3 separate regions of the Homo sapiens genome follow, and all the other regions are linked to region 3. The links are contacts of gene promoters, found by promoter capture Hi-C in blood cells and fetal thymus (Javierre and others, 2016). All regions are on one chromosome and are shown on one strand. The core of a region is centred on a gene start or on the middle of the fragment in contact, and the rest is flanking DNA. Distances in the headings are between cores, read along the strand shown.

Region 1 (4,550 bases), core at 804-3,303, 310 kb after region 3:
GGCACGATCTAGGCTCACTGCAACCTCCCCCTCCCGGGTTCAAGCGATTCCCCTGCCTCAGCCTCCCGAGCAGCTGGGACTACAGGTGCCCACCACCATGCACAGCTAATTTTTTGTATTTTAGTAAAGACGGGGTTTCACCATGTTGGCCAGGCTGGTCCTGAACTCCTGACCTCAAGTGAGCCCCCCACCTCGAACTCCCCAAGTGCTGAGATTACAGGCGTGAGCCACTGAGCCTGGCCACCAATACTTCTTTTTGCTGTTTTTTTTGACGGAGTCTCGCTCTATCGCCCAGGCTGGAGTGCAGTGGCGCGATCTCCGCTCACTGCAAGCTCCGCCTCCCGGGTTCACGCCGTTCTCCGGCCTCAGCCTCCCGCGTAGCTGGGACTACAGGCGCCCGCCAATACTTCTTAATCTCCCACACTTAAGTGGAACAGGATGGTTTATGGAGGCTGAAGTTGAGTATTTCCCTTCTCCCAGGTAGTTTAGGCTCTGATAAAACCCCAGCAGACTAGGCTTTGGTAAAAATACTTTCTCCTGAGGGCAGGTCTTGTTAAGAACTGATTGCTCTGGCTATTTTTAAATGGTTACCCTTTCAGCAGAGGAATCTTTCAGTAAAAATTTAAGTAATTAACCTAACTGTCAGAGGCGTTTGAACCAGAGCGATTCCATTTTGAGTGAGGGCTAGGAAAATGAGGCTGAGACTTGCTGGGCTGAATTCTCAGAATTTGGGCATTCCTCGCCTCTAGATGTTTACGATTAAGGGAATAAATTAATAATGTTTACTAAAACAGACCCAGATATCGGGATATCTGGAGAACAAAGGCATTCCTAATTTTGCTTTAAAGATAATAATATCAATTCCTGCAAAATAATTAAGAAAATTAATCTTTGATCACAAACCCTTGTAGCAGAGCACATCTCCCCATATATACAAGCATTGTACCTAGGGTGGATGCGTCCCTTCTCTTGCTTTCAGGAATGTCCTACTCTGTCTATGGAGTAGCTGTCCTTTCACCACTTTACGTGTTTTAATAAACTTGCTTTTCTCAGCACTGAGAACTCGCCCTGAATTCTTTCTTGCGCGCGATCCAAGAACCCTCTCTTGGGGTCTGGATCCGGACCCCTGTCGTAACGTAACTGAAAACCCCAGTGCAAAGGCATAGCACCCTACTTAAGAATTTGCAAACATTCATTATTAGTTATTTCAAATCATTGATTAACTTTCTCTAAGCCAATCAGATTCCTACCTGATGTCGAAAAGAAAAGCAAAAGGTAGACTGTTTCAACACTTTCAGACGCTTGGGTAAAAGATGCACTTTCATGCTATAAATAATGCAGCACAAATACTGTACAACAGGGCTTTATACTTGGGGAAAAGCTGCCAGATCCAAACTCTAAAGGAAAACTATTGGAGCTCATTTTTCCTGCCCACGTTAGCTAGCACATTTTGTTGACATTGAAAAAAAAAAAAGATTTTGGTGAAACTGAAAAAAAAAAAGCACCAACAACCCTACCTTGAAATAAACTATTGTACCTCTTATGCCTCCTCCCTTCTACCCCAGAAACCTGGAAGAAAAAAAGATATACCCGAGCTCGTCCAACCCCTCTTTGCGTGGACTGTATAGGAGTATTTAGCCCATCCTGCCTCCTTTAATCTAACATTCTGCGTCTTCTTTCCTTCAGCTTCTCGGCGCCCCCTTTGGCCAGCACTGACATCTTAGTCATCGCGGTCCAAAATTTACGCACGCGCCTTTGAGGGCTCACAGAGCCCGTCTCTCCCGGACGAATCTCATCCAATCAGAGCCAGCCAGGAAGCCGAGGCTCAGCAAGGCCTCGCGACGCCCAACTTCCCAGGGTTAGCGTCTCTGATGTCATGTGATTCCACCCTCCGCCTCTCACCCACCCTCGCAGAGGGCGGTGCGCTTGGCCCGGCCCCTCGAGGCACCGCCTTTCAATTAGCACTCGCTGATTGGTCGCTGCTCGCGCGGTCTCCTGGGTGACGGGAACGCGGTAGCCTGCTTGGTGGAGACCGGGTGCGCCTGCGTACTTCATAGTTCGCGTAGCGGCTCGAGCGTGGAGATGAAGGTAAATAACTTACAAATTCCCGGGGTGGGGCGGGAAAACGCGACTACTGGCCCTTGGTCGCTTTTAAAAGAGGATATCTGTCCCTCTCCCTTCTGAGTTCGTTGGAAATGAGGAAGAGAGAGAGAGAGAGAGGTGGCCAGAGAGAGCGGGGGCGAAGCTGAAGGGACGAGAGAAAGGAAAGAAAATAGGAGGAGAGGAGAGGGCGGAGAGAGAGGCCTCTCGTTTTGGGGACTGCAGACGCCGTAGAAGCGGTGCAGAAAGTGGGAACCCCTCCCTGGCCGAAATGAGCGGACTGGATCTAAAGATACCCCAGCTTCGCACGCGGAAAGAACTGGTCGAGTTAACGCGTTTGGAGGGTCGCTGTGAAGTTGACTGGGTCCGATGTCACGAGCTACCTCATTTCTTGGGGCTAAGCCTCTGGCAAGCCGCGCAGCTGCCCAGCGCCTTAAAAAGAATGAAAAGCCTCCTAAAGAATAACTTCAAAATGTATTACCTGTGACCAGTCCAATCACCTGCTAGCGAGTGTACATTATTGACGGGAAATCTGCACCCGAAAACTCAGGTCTCACGCTCATGTGCCTCATCCTCTGCACGCACGGTTTCTAGGCTTGGGCTTCTTGTTCACCCCACTTTCTGATTTATCAGAGCAGTCCCCCCTTGCTCTGCTCTGGCAAAGAAATGGAAGGCTTTTTTTTTTTTTTTTTTTTACTGAGTCTCGCTCTGTTACCCAGGCTGGAGTGCAGTGGCGCAATCTCTGCTCCCTGCAACCTCCACCTCCTGGGTTCAAGCGATTCTCCTGCCTCAGCCCCCCGAGTAGCTGGGACTACAGGCGCGTGCCACCACACCCAGCTAATTTTTTGTATTTTTAGTAGAGATGGGGTTTCACCGTGTTAGCCAGGATGCTGTCACTCTCCTGACCTCATGATCCCCCGACCTCGGGCTCCCAAAGTGCTGAGATTACAGGCGTGAGCCACCGCGCCCGGCTGGAAGGCTCAATTTTAAAATTATTTTAGATGTCCTCATGCTTCTTCGTGGCTATTAGTGTGGAAATTGGAATTGACGGACCAGTAATCATAACTCCCATTTTTATTTCTAAAGCTCTTTACAATTTATGAAATATTAGAAGTGAAGAGTTATTATTCATGATTTACAGTTGAGAATTTTTTGCTGGAGGCAATTTAAACGACTTACTTAAAGCCCTACAGCTAATAAGCTACAAACAAAATTTAAGTCTTGGTTTTTTGGTTGTGAAACTAGCAGTTTTTCCTCTGCACGGTATGTGGAGCATCTATAGAGCTCCACTGAAAAAAAATAATATGAAATCACAGCTAGAGGCAAGTCAGCCATTGAAGGTAATGAAATTCAAGTTTAAGGACTTCTCACTTGCATGAAGGAGTTCCAGGGTGAAATGGTCACAAAATTGCAAAAGTAAGATGCTTTTAAATATTCTTTCTTCATGAGTTTCTTTATGCTCTATAAAACTTTTATGTCCCATGATCATAGCCCACCTCTACTTTCAATAGAGGGGAATTTCTTCTTTAGCATGTAAAATGCTCATTGGGACAGGGTGCGGTGGCTCACGCCTGTAATCCCAGCACTTTGGGACGCCGAGGCAGGTGGATCACTTGAGGTCAGGAGTTCGACACCAGCCTGGCCAACATGGTGAAACCCTGTCTCTACCAAAAATATTTTTAAAATTAGCCGGGCGTGGTAGCGTGTGCCTGTAATCCCAGCTATTCGGGAGGCTGAGGCAGGAGAATCGCTTGAACCCAGGAGGCGGAGGTTGCAGTGAGCCAAGATCGCCCCACTGCACTCCAGAGCCTGGGCGACAGAGCAAGACGCTGTCTAAAAAAAAATAAAAATAAAAATAAACAACCTCACTGCTTTGTGTTTGGTTGTTGGTTGTTAATTTATTTATTTTGAGACGAAGTCTTGCTCTGTCACCCAGGCTGGAGTGCAGTGGCACCATCTCGGCTCACTGCAACCTCCACCTCCCGGGTTCAAGGGATTCTCGTGCCTCAGCCTCCCAAGTAGATGGGATTACAGCAAGCGCCACCATGCCCAGCTCATTTTTTGGTAATTTTAGTAGAGACGAGGTTTCGCCATGTTGGCCAGGCGGTGTTTAATTTTGAGCATTGTAAGAGTTTTGTGTTGCCGCACAGACTAAGTCCCGTGTAACAGTATCTAAATTTCATATGCCTAGAAATGGGCATCATTGTTTAATCTATAATTTAACCTAATATTGAAATCTAAATTTTTTCACTGAAACTCATATTCCTAAATGTTCTAGATCAACACTGTCTGATATAAATGTACTGTGAGCTAATGTAATTTCATATTTTTATTGACCATTAAAATTTTTTAAGAAAACAGGTAAAATTTATTTTAATAATATATTTTATCTTACCCAGTATATCAAAAATGTTATTTCAACATGTAATCAATATAAAAATTAACAACGA
Region 2 (4,738 bases), core at 537-3,036, 280 kb after region 3:
ACAAAAATTAGCTGGGCGTGGTGGCGGGCGCCTGTAATCCTAGCTACTCCGGAGGCTGAGGCAAGAGAATTGCTTGAACCTGGGAAGCGGAGGTTGCAGTGAGCTGAGATCGCGCCATTGCACTCCAGCTGAGCGACAAGAGCAAAACTCTGTCTCAAAAAAAAAAAAAAAGATTTATTTAGAGAAATGTGGGAGACTTCTTCGGTAAAGTCAGTACTTCTGAAAGAGTATTTTCTCTCTTAAAAGACTGCATCCACTCTGGAGAAGCACCCAGCTGTTCCTTTTGAAACTAAGCATGGACTCATCCTATGATCCAGCAAGGGCACTCGTGGTGTCACTCATGGTGTACCAGAGAAAATGAAGACTGACTCCCAGCACCTTCATTCATAACAGCCCAACACTAGGAACTACCCAAATGTCCTGTAATGGTGAATGGTTAAAGAACCTATGGGACATCCATACCATGGAATACGATCCAGCCATAAAATGGAACAAACCTTTCACACAGGCAACAACTTGGAAGAACCTCAAGGAAATTATGCTGAGTGAAAAAAAAAAAAAAGCCAGTCTCAAAAATGGTGCATACGACATAGTTCTATTTATGTAACATCCAAAAAAATAACATAATTACAGAGATGAAGAACAGATTAGGGATTGTCAGAGGTTAGAGATATGGAGAGAGGATGAATGTGGCTGTAGAGGGATAGCTCTAGGGAGTCTTGTGGTGATGGTAGTATAGTCTCTTGATTGTGGTGGTGGTTATGCAAGGCTATGGATGTGGTAAAAGTGTATAAAGTTACACACACACACACACACAAGTGCATATGTAACTGGTGAAATCTGATTAAACTGTATGGATTGGACCAGTGTCAATTTCTTGGTTTTGATATTATTTTACAGTTGTGTATGATGCTAATATTTAGGAGGCTGAGAAAAAGGTACATGAGAATTTCCTGGACATTTCTTTGCAACCTCCTATAAATCTATCATTATTTCATAAGAAAAGAAAAAAAGCCCACGTACACACATTAAATCTTTATATTTAAGGTGACTTGTTTGAAGATACAAAGACGAGCAGGGGAGCAGGGGAGGGAATTGCTAGCTGTTTGGCATGTATGGTGGCCACTCCCTATGTATTGCCATAGCAATATGGCAGTATTTCCTATGAACAGCGTATTTTTAATATATTAACCAGGAAGATAAAAATGTGTTCTGCATTCAGTGCTAGCCACAGAGTTTCAAAGACCTGATGGAACCAAAGTGTGTTAAGGCCTTAGCTCTGTGTTATACTTGCCAACCTTCTAAGGGTATGGGTATCACATAGAAGAAATCTAAGGACAGGTTTCAGGGCCCTTGATCATTCCTCAACCTGTCAGATCCTGAGTGTTTATCACAGAATGTTTCAGTAAATCAGTTATATTACTTGCCCACCATTTTCACTCCTCCAGAAGATTATTTCTCAAACAATAACAACTTTTTCTAGGTTCCAAATATTATATCCATTGTTTGGCCTTAGTTTTTGTGTGTGTGTGTGGTTTTTTTGTTTGTTTGTTTGTTTGTTTAGAGATGGAGTCTCGCTGTGTCGCCCATGCTGGAGTGCAGTGGTGCGATCTCAGCTCACTGCAAGCTCTGCCTCCCAGGTTCACGCCATTCTCCTGCCTCAGCCACCCAAGTAGCTGGGACTACAGGCACCCACCACCATGCCCGGCTAATTTTTTGTATTTTTAGTAGAGACGGGGTTTCACCATTTTAACCAGGATGGTCTCGATCTCCTGACCTCGTGATCTGCCCGCCTCGGCCTCCCAAAGTGCTGGGATTACAGGCGTGAGCCACCGTGTCCGGCCTTGTTTGGCATTTTTAAATACCACTAGAGTATCCTTATATCTTTTTGTGAAGAAAAATCTAGATTTCTGGTATGTTTTCAAAACCTGAAGTCTCTAGCTACTTGTAACATTTTCACATCTCTTATGCTGATTTTTCTTATTCTCTTAATTTTTAAAAAACTTTTTTTATTTCATTAGCTTTAGGGGTAGGAATGGTTATGGGTTCCATGGATGATGAGTGGTGAATTCTGGGCTTTTAGTGCACCAGTCGCCCCAATAGTGTACATTGTACCCAATAGGTAGTTTTTCACCCCTCATCCCCCTTCCACCCTCCTCCCCCTTTCTTATTTATTTATTTATTTTTGAGACAGAGTCTCGCTCTGTCACCCAGGCTGGAGTGCTGTGGCATGATCCTGGCTCACTGCAACCTCCATCTCCCAGGTTCAAGCGATTCTCCTGCCTCAACCTCCCGAGTAGCCGAGATTACAGGCACGCGCCACCATGCCCAGCTAATTTTTTTGTACTTTTAGTAGAGACAGGATTTCACCATGTTGGCCAGGCTGGTTTTGAACCCCTGATCTCAAGTGAGACACCTGCCTCAGCCTCCCGAAGTGTTAGGATTACAGGTGTGAGCCACCGCGCCCGGCCCATCCTCCCCATTTCTGAGTCTCCAGTGTCCATTATAGCACTCTGTATACCTTTGCTTACCCATAGCTTAGTTCCCACTTGTGAAAACATGCGGTATTTGGTTTTTTGTCCCTGTGTTACTTCACTTAGGATAATGGCCTCCAGTTCCATCCAAATAGCTGAAAATACATTATTTGGTTCTTTTTATGGCTTAGTAGTATTCCATGGTATATATACACCACTTAAAAAAAATAGAGACAGGGTCTCACTTTGTTGTCCAGGCTGGTCTCAAACTCCTGGCTTCAAGGGATCCTTCTGCCTCAGCCTCCCAAAGTGCTGGACTACAGGCATGAGCCACTGTGCTTGGCCTATATACATCACACTTTCCTTTATCCACAAGCTGATGGGCACCTTGGTTGACTCCATATCTGCAATTGTGAATTGTGCTGCAACACACATATGTGTGCAGGTATCTTTTTGATATGGTAACTTCCTTTCCTCCTTTTGGCATGCTTCTCCTCTGTCCTTTTGGGGAAGGCAGTATCTTCAATATTTTTAGCCTCAGAAGACATGGCCAGAAGTTTTGAAATCACCAGCATGAATTATTGAGACAAGGGATATCCCTTGGTCCCTGAGTGCTCCCCAGTGAAGACCTAAACACAGACTTAAAAAAAAATTAAAATTTCCAGATACAGTATCTTCTTAGATGTATTCAGAATGTGGGCAAGTCACAGCTTCTATCTAAGGCTGGTTATGAGACAAACAAAAAGCCTGGATCACAGAATTAAGTTAATTCAACAGGTGTTTTATGACAAGTTTTAATCTGATTTCCAGAAAAGCTAGTTTTTTGAGGTTTTTTGTTTGTTTGTTTTGCTTTGTTTTTGTTTTTGTTTTTGTTTGAGACAGAGTCTTACTCTGTCACCCAGGCTAGAGTACAGTGGTGCAATCTTGGCTCACTGCAACCTCTGCCTCCCGGGTTCAAGTGATACTCTGCCTCAGCCTCCCGAGTAGCTGGGATTACAGGCGCCTGCCACCACGCACCACTAATTTTTTTGTATTTTTGGAAGAGACAGGGTTTCACCGTGTTGGCCAGGCTGGTCTCGAACTCCTGACCTCGTGATCCACCTGCCTTGGCCTCCCAAAGTTCTGGGATTACAGGTGTGAGCCACCGCACCCAGCCGAAAAGCTAGTTTTCTTTAATCAAGAAAAATTAAAAGTAAAGATTTAATGTTTGTAGATAGGTTTTTTTTTAATTAAGGCAAAATTCACATCTCATAAAATTAACCATTTTAAAGTGAACAATTCAGTAGCATCCAGTACATTCATACTGTTGTGCAAGCAATACATCTAGTTCCAAAAGGTTTTCATCATCCCAAAAGAAATACCCATACCCATTTAGCACTTACTCCCCATTCTTCCTTCCTCTCAGCCCCAGCAACCACCAATATGGTTTCTATTTCTAGAAATCTACCTATTCTGAATATGTCATATAAATGGAATCATACAGTGTGACCCTTTGTGTCAGGCTTTTTTCATTTAGCATGTTTTCAAGATTCATCTATGATGTAGCATGAATCATTACTTCATTTCTTCTTGTGGCTGAACAATATTCCATCGTATATACCACAGAGCATTATTCAAGGACATTTGGATGATTTCCTCCTCTTAGCTATTGTGAATAGTGCTGCTATGAACATACATGTACAAGTATTTAAGCATCTGTTTTCAATTCTTTGAAGGTATATCACCTATGAATGGAATTGATGGGTTATATGGTAATTTTATGGTGTTTAATTTTTTTGAGAAACTGCCAAACCAGTTTCCACAGCAACAGAGCCATTTTACATTCCTGTGCATTGATTTTTAAAAACAGAAGCTATGAATCTTCAGAAATGAAGTAGGCTTTCCATCTGCTTCCTTGGATTTGGCATACTCTAGAATAAATCGGTGGTTCTCAACTCTGGCTTGACAACATAGGGAGCTCAAAAAGAAGAAGGTAACAGCCTCCATCTCTAGAAATTCTGTTTATTTCTAATAAATCTGGGTTGAGCCCATGCCACTCCAAGTGACCCTCAAGTAACTCTAATGGCTGCCAGGATTGAGAACTACTACTCTACATGAACTCAGGGGAAGTAGTGCAAGAATTTTTTCCCTACAGAATAGGAATCATTAAATTGTCATGGAAACAGAACTCATTTCCATTTCTTAATTCCCTTGGCTGTTTGATTCACAGCCGTGTATCTGCACCTAGAATCATTATTGGCACAGAATTGAACAAATATATTGGC
Region 3 (4,686 bases), core at 392-2,891:
TTATTAATATAAAAATATTTAATAAAAATATTAAATAAGAAATATAGCCAGGCACGGTGGCTCATGCCTGTAATCCCAGCACTTTGGGAGGCCGAGGTGGGTGGATCACCTGAGGTCAGGAGTTCGAGACCAGCCTGGCCAACATGGTGAAACCCCGTCTCTACTAAAAAATACAAAAATTAGCCGGGTGTGGTGGCACGCACCTGTAATCCCAGCTACTCAAGAGGCTGAGGCAGGAGAATTGCTTGAACCCAGTAAGCAGAGGCTGCAGTGAGCTGAGATCACGCCACTGCTTTCCAGCCTGGACGACAGAGCAAGACTCCATCTCAAAAAAATGAATTAATAAATTAATTAATATATATATGGAAGAAACTGGAATATAAGGAGCAAACTAATTGTCAATAGGAGAATGATTGAATGAAATATAATTACAAACATATTGCAATATATAAGACAAGTCTTAGAAGAGTGGTTTTGGTTGATATGTATTGACCAAGAAAGATGATTATAATATATAATAAATAGGGGGAAATTTACAAAATACGTCAACATCTCGCCATTTTTATAAAAAAGCAAACAAAAAGCTGTTTATGCATACATGTATTTATATAAGCTTAGAAAAACTATGGTAGGATCCACACACTATAAAAAATGGTAGTGATATTGAAAGGGAGAGACTAGGGCTATTTTTTCTTTAACTTTGAATTTATAATTCTTCAAAAAGAAGAAGGGATGGAGTGAGAGAGGAGAAAATCTGCCTTAAACACATCGCTCAGAAAGAATCACTATTTTTAAATTGTATTTCCTCCGACTTTTATAGAAAATACAAAATTGTTTACAAAACTAGTTAATACTATAAACACTGCGCTTCCTCCGCATCTGAGTTCATATTAAGCCATATTTGAGGAAGGCCTTCATATGTGGCCTTCCCTCCATGTCAACGAATCCTCATTTTTAAGGGCTACAACATATTCGATGTCTGAAGTTACTGTAGCTTACTTCACCAATCTTACTGGGGGACATTGAGATTGTCTCCGGCTTCCCCCCGCAGAAACAACTACAACAAACATCCTTGTACATACATATTTGCCCATTTGACTGCCTACTTAGGACAAATTCACAAATGTGGAATTCCTAGGCCAAAGCTAATACATCGGAGTTTTAACCCACAGCTCCAAACTGGCCTTCTGGAAAGTGGGTTTTCGTTGTTTGTTTGGGGTTTGTTTGTTTTAAATCTATCACACTCCCACCGACAGGGCAAGGGAGTGCTGCTTAACGCAGAATCAGGAGATCAAACTTTAGCTGAATTTGAGCGACCTCTTCCCAGTGACACGGCGGGGGGTTTTCCAAGCCCTTTTAAGGAAAGGAAAGGGATCTGGCGAACCCCGAGACCCACCCGCCCTGGGCTGGAGAGGCGGCGCGCTCTGGCTTTCCGCGCTGGCACAGGGGTGGGACAAGCCAAGTTTCCAGGAGACTCGCCCAGCGCGGGCCCGGCCCTCGCAGCGTGGGGGTGGCCGGGCGTCCCCGCGGCGCTCCTCGTGGGGCGGGGCGCAGGCGGGGCGGGGCCCCCTCTCCAGCCGCCCGCCCTCCGGCCGCGTCCCCGCCGGCCCTGCAGACGTGGCGGGGCGGGACCCGCTGGGCACTCCCGCGCGTACTCGGCCGCCTGAGCGGTAAGAGCCCCGGGCACTCGGTCCCCATCCCCTTCCCCGGGGGGCGGGCGAGCGCGGGGGCGGCTGCCCGGGGGTGGTGGGAACACCATACCTTGGCGCCTCGTCCGGGACCCACGAATCCTGCCCTCTGCGTTAGTGAGAAGCAGTGGTCAGGGAGGACCCGGCTCTGGGGTGAGGGTCTGGGGCGGCGCGGCCGAGGGACCTGCGTGGGTGCGGGCGTGTGAGTGTGTGTGTGTGAGTGTGTGTCGCTCCGGGTCCACGCTCATGCACACACCCACACGCCCACACTCAGGGTCTGCCCCCTCGGCCTGCGTGAACCTCCGCGGAGCCTGCCTGGATCTCCCAAAGTATCCAGTCCTGGCACCAAGCAAGTCTGGAAAAGTGCCCCCAATGGCTCGGGGCCAAGTCAGAGGTGGGCTGCAGGGTCCCCCAGCCCGGGCACGAAGGGAGCAGGTCCCTGTAAGACAGAGGCCTCGTCCCAGGGTGCGCCTGCCCTCGGCCTTGGCACAGGGAGCTCAGGCCTTGACCTCCCCGCTCCCCTCGCCTTACTCCTCCCCCAACAGCCGACCCACGCCCTGCCTGCTCTTCCAGTCCAGCCAACACTCTAAGCAGGCACCGCCTCCACTCGCAGCCCCCGGGATGGGTCCCACTCCCTACCGCAGATCCCCAGGCCCCCTCCACCCAGTCGGCTAGCCCTCGCCTCTGCCATCCGGTGAGTATTTCCAGGCACCTCAGACCAGGCGCCTGAACGTCACTGCCTTTTCTTAAGTAGGAAGACATCTCTCTATGGGCTGTGAGAGCATTACCTATGCCCTACTGATCCCATCATTTCCCATCCTAAACATCTTGAAGGACACAGGCAGGTGGCTTCTTAAATCAGTGTGCTCTGAACTCCCTGTGACCTCAGCCAACCTGTGACAACTGAGAATGAGACAGGCTCTATCCTCAGAGCCTCTTTTTGCCCTCTCTGCAGCCTAGTGGCTCCTTCCCTACCCCACCCATAGGCCTGCGTCCCCGCCCTCCTTTCTTCCATCAAGCCTGAGCTTGGGAAAGAATCTGATAAACTTCTTACATTGTAACCTTTAAGTGAAGGAATGAGACGTTAGGGATGGATTTGAGGCACAAGTGAGACAGTGCAGAAGGAATTTGAGGGTTGGAGGGGGCTTTCTTGAATCTGAGCGATTCAGACCATAAAAGTAAACTTGTCTTTGTTTATTTGACCAGGCTTACATCAAACATGGTTTCTCTTTTATTAATATCAAACACAATGTATTTCAATTCAGTAAATATCTGAGGGACAGAAACCAACCTAGGTGCTGTTGGTCACAGTCTTGGAGGACAGAATGGCAGAAGTAAATACTCCATAAATACATGGAATAGAAATCTGTGCAAAGTGCCAAAAACATAGAAGAGGTAGCAGTTATTTCATTGGAAGCAGTGGGGCAGATTAAGGAAAAATTCAGAATGAAAGGTAACATTAGACACTGGGTGTCTAGAGGAATAGGAGTTTGCCAGGCAGCTGGAGGAAGGGCAGCACCGGGGCAGAGGAACCAGCGTAAGCAAAGGCAGGGAGATGTGAAGAGTTATGGGGAATGGAGAAAAGACTGGTGAGGCAGGAGTGGAGGATACTGAGAGTTGCAAGAGGTGGAGAGAGATTGGAGCTGGATTATGATGGGAAGTGTGAAGATATTTACACCTAATGGTTTTTGAACAGGAGAGCAAATAGGTCCAAAAATGCCTGGCAGCCTCACAGAGAATAGGCTGGAGCCTGGGTACGTAGACTTGTCAAGCTTTATACAAACTCATACAAACTGCTACAACCTGATTAAGAGCCTCTCATCCAGAGTTTTTATTCCTGGTCCTTCGCTGACTGGCACTGTTTTTGTTTTTTTTTTTTAACTGGGGGAGATGACCTCACACAGGATATCATGCTAACCAAATTTTTATGCTGCCAAGTCAGGCCATTTTTTTTAAAAAAATCCATCCACTGTCACTATTTCATAAAATGAAAGACATTTTAATACCAAGAAAAAGCACAAAGGCTAAACTTGAAAGATGAAGGCAGTCCTTTACATTTAATAAATTTAGATTTATGAAAAACTTGCAATCTTGTCCTCATTTTTCTCTATCATCACAGACTTGCCCCAGTCCTGCAGGTGGAGTTTGGAAAAAAAAGCATCCAGATCAGTTTGTCCATCCTAGCTTTACAGAGGAGCAGGTGTAAGCACAGTGAGGATCAAGTTGTGTGCCCACAAAGGGATACTGGGACCAGAGGCCACATCCCTTGACGCCTGCAGGACACAACTCTTTCCACCTCAGAATACCATCGCTCCCACCTCTCATCATTCCTCCATGCAGCCTCATGTCCTGGCCTCTCAGACACCTGTCCTGAATCACTACAGTCCATCGCTGATGCTTGGACATTTGCACATGCTCTCATCCCACCAGGCCTGAATCACCACATCAAAGACACTTTCAAGATTCTCCCTTGCACAGGGTCAGTCTAGTTCAGGCACATCTGTCCTTGATTTGCTGTGCTGTTTTGCATCACTTTTTAACTGTTTTGTGTTAGCTCCTCAAACAGATGATTGATTTCTGAAGGATAGTGACCATGTCTTCTGTTTTATACTTATTTTTGGAGCTGTGATGTTGCTGCTTAAATACCTTGCATAGTTCTGGGAGCATTTTAGGTGATGAATGAATTTACTCACGAAAAACTAACTTATTCCCAGCCCACAAAGGCTTCTTTATATGCCACCCTTCCTCTCCTTAGAGTTTCCTGAAGCAGCCTCCTTGTTTCTGTGGGTTGAGTCTCCCTAGCCTCCAGTCCACGAGACATGGCTACAGTGATCAGTGTTCCTAACCATAAATCAGGAAAGGTTTCTAAGTCTGGCTTATGGAACACCCAGACGGAGATGGAAACCGTCCCAGGAAACACAGTGCTTGTCATGACTGTAATCCTGGTGGACTCCAGCAGCCCCTGCTCAGAAACAGTTCTGTATTTCAAACACACAGT

Evidence for each region. Contacts are between HindIII fragments. The CHiCAGO score rates a contact against its expected background, and 5 or more counts as called.
Region 1: a contact is called between the fragment with the promoter of WDR19 here and the fragment with the promoter of FAM114A1 in region 3, in 9 of 17 cell types (neutrophils, activated CD4 T cells, M1 macrophages and 6 more). The highest score is 7.6, in neutrophils.
Region 2: a contact is called between a fragment that was not itself captured here and the fragment with the promoter of FAM114A1 in region 3, in 3 of 17 cell types (megakaryocytes, M2 macrophages and naive CD8 T cells). The highest score is 6.4, in megakaryocytes.

What each region holds. Positions count from the first base shown.
Region 1 is chr4:39,180,476-39,185,025 of GRCh38, forward strand. WDR19 (WD repeat domain 19) reads left to right here and starts at 2,054. Exons shown (of 37, transcript NM_025132.4): 1 at 2,054-2,088. The coding sequence starts at 2,083. RefSeq lists enhancers at 1,723-1,902, 1,754-2,048, 2,173-2,322, 3,023-3,092. The HindIII fragment of the contact is 13,594 bases long and covers 1-4,550 here.
Region 2 is chr4:39,142,239-39,146,976 of GRCh38, forward strand. It overlaps a transcript of KLHL5 not described here. Among named protein-coding and RNA genes, the nearest start is that of WDR19, 38 kb to the right of the region's middle. The HindIII fragment of the contact is 5,960 bases long and covers 1-4,738 here.
Region 3 is chr4:38,866,165-38,870,850 of GRCh38, forward strand. It overlaps FAM114A1 (family with sequence similarity 114 member A1), which reads left to right and starts at 1,642. Exons shown (of 15, transcript NM_138389.4): 1 at 1,642-1,670; 2 at 2,234-2,382. MIR574 (microRNA 574) reads left to right here and starts at 1,868; the gene lies at 1,868-1,963. It also overlaps a transcript of TLR6 not described here. RefSeq lists silencers at 1,406-1,885, 1,936-1,985 and an enhancer at 2,193-2,776. The HindIII fragment of the contact is 2,847 bases long and covers 612-3,458 here.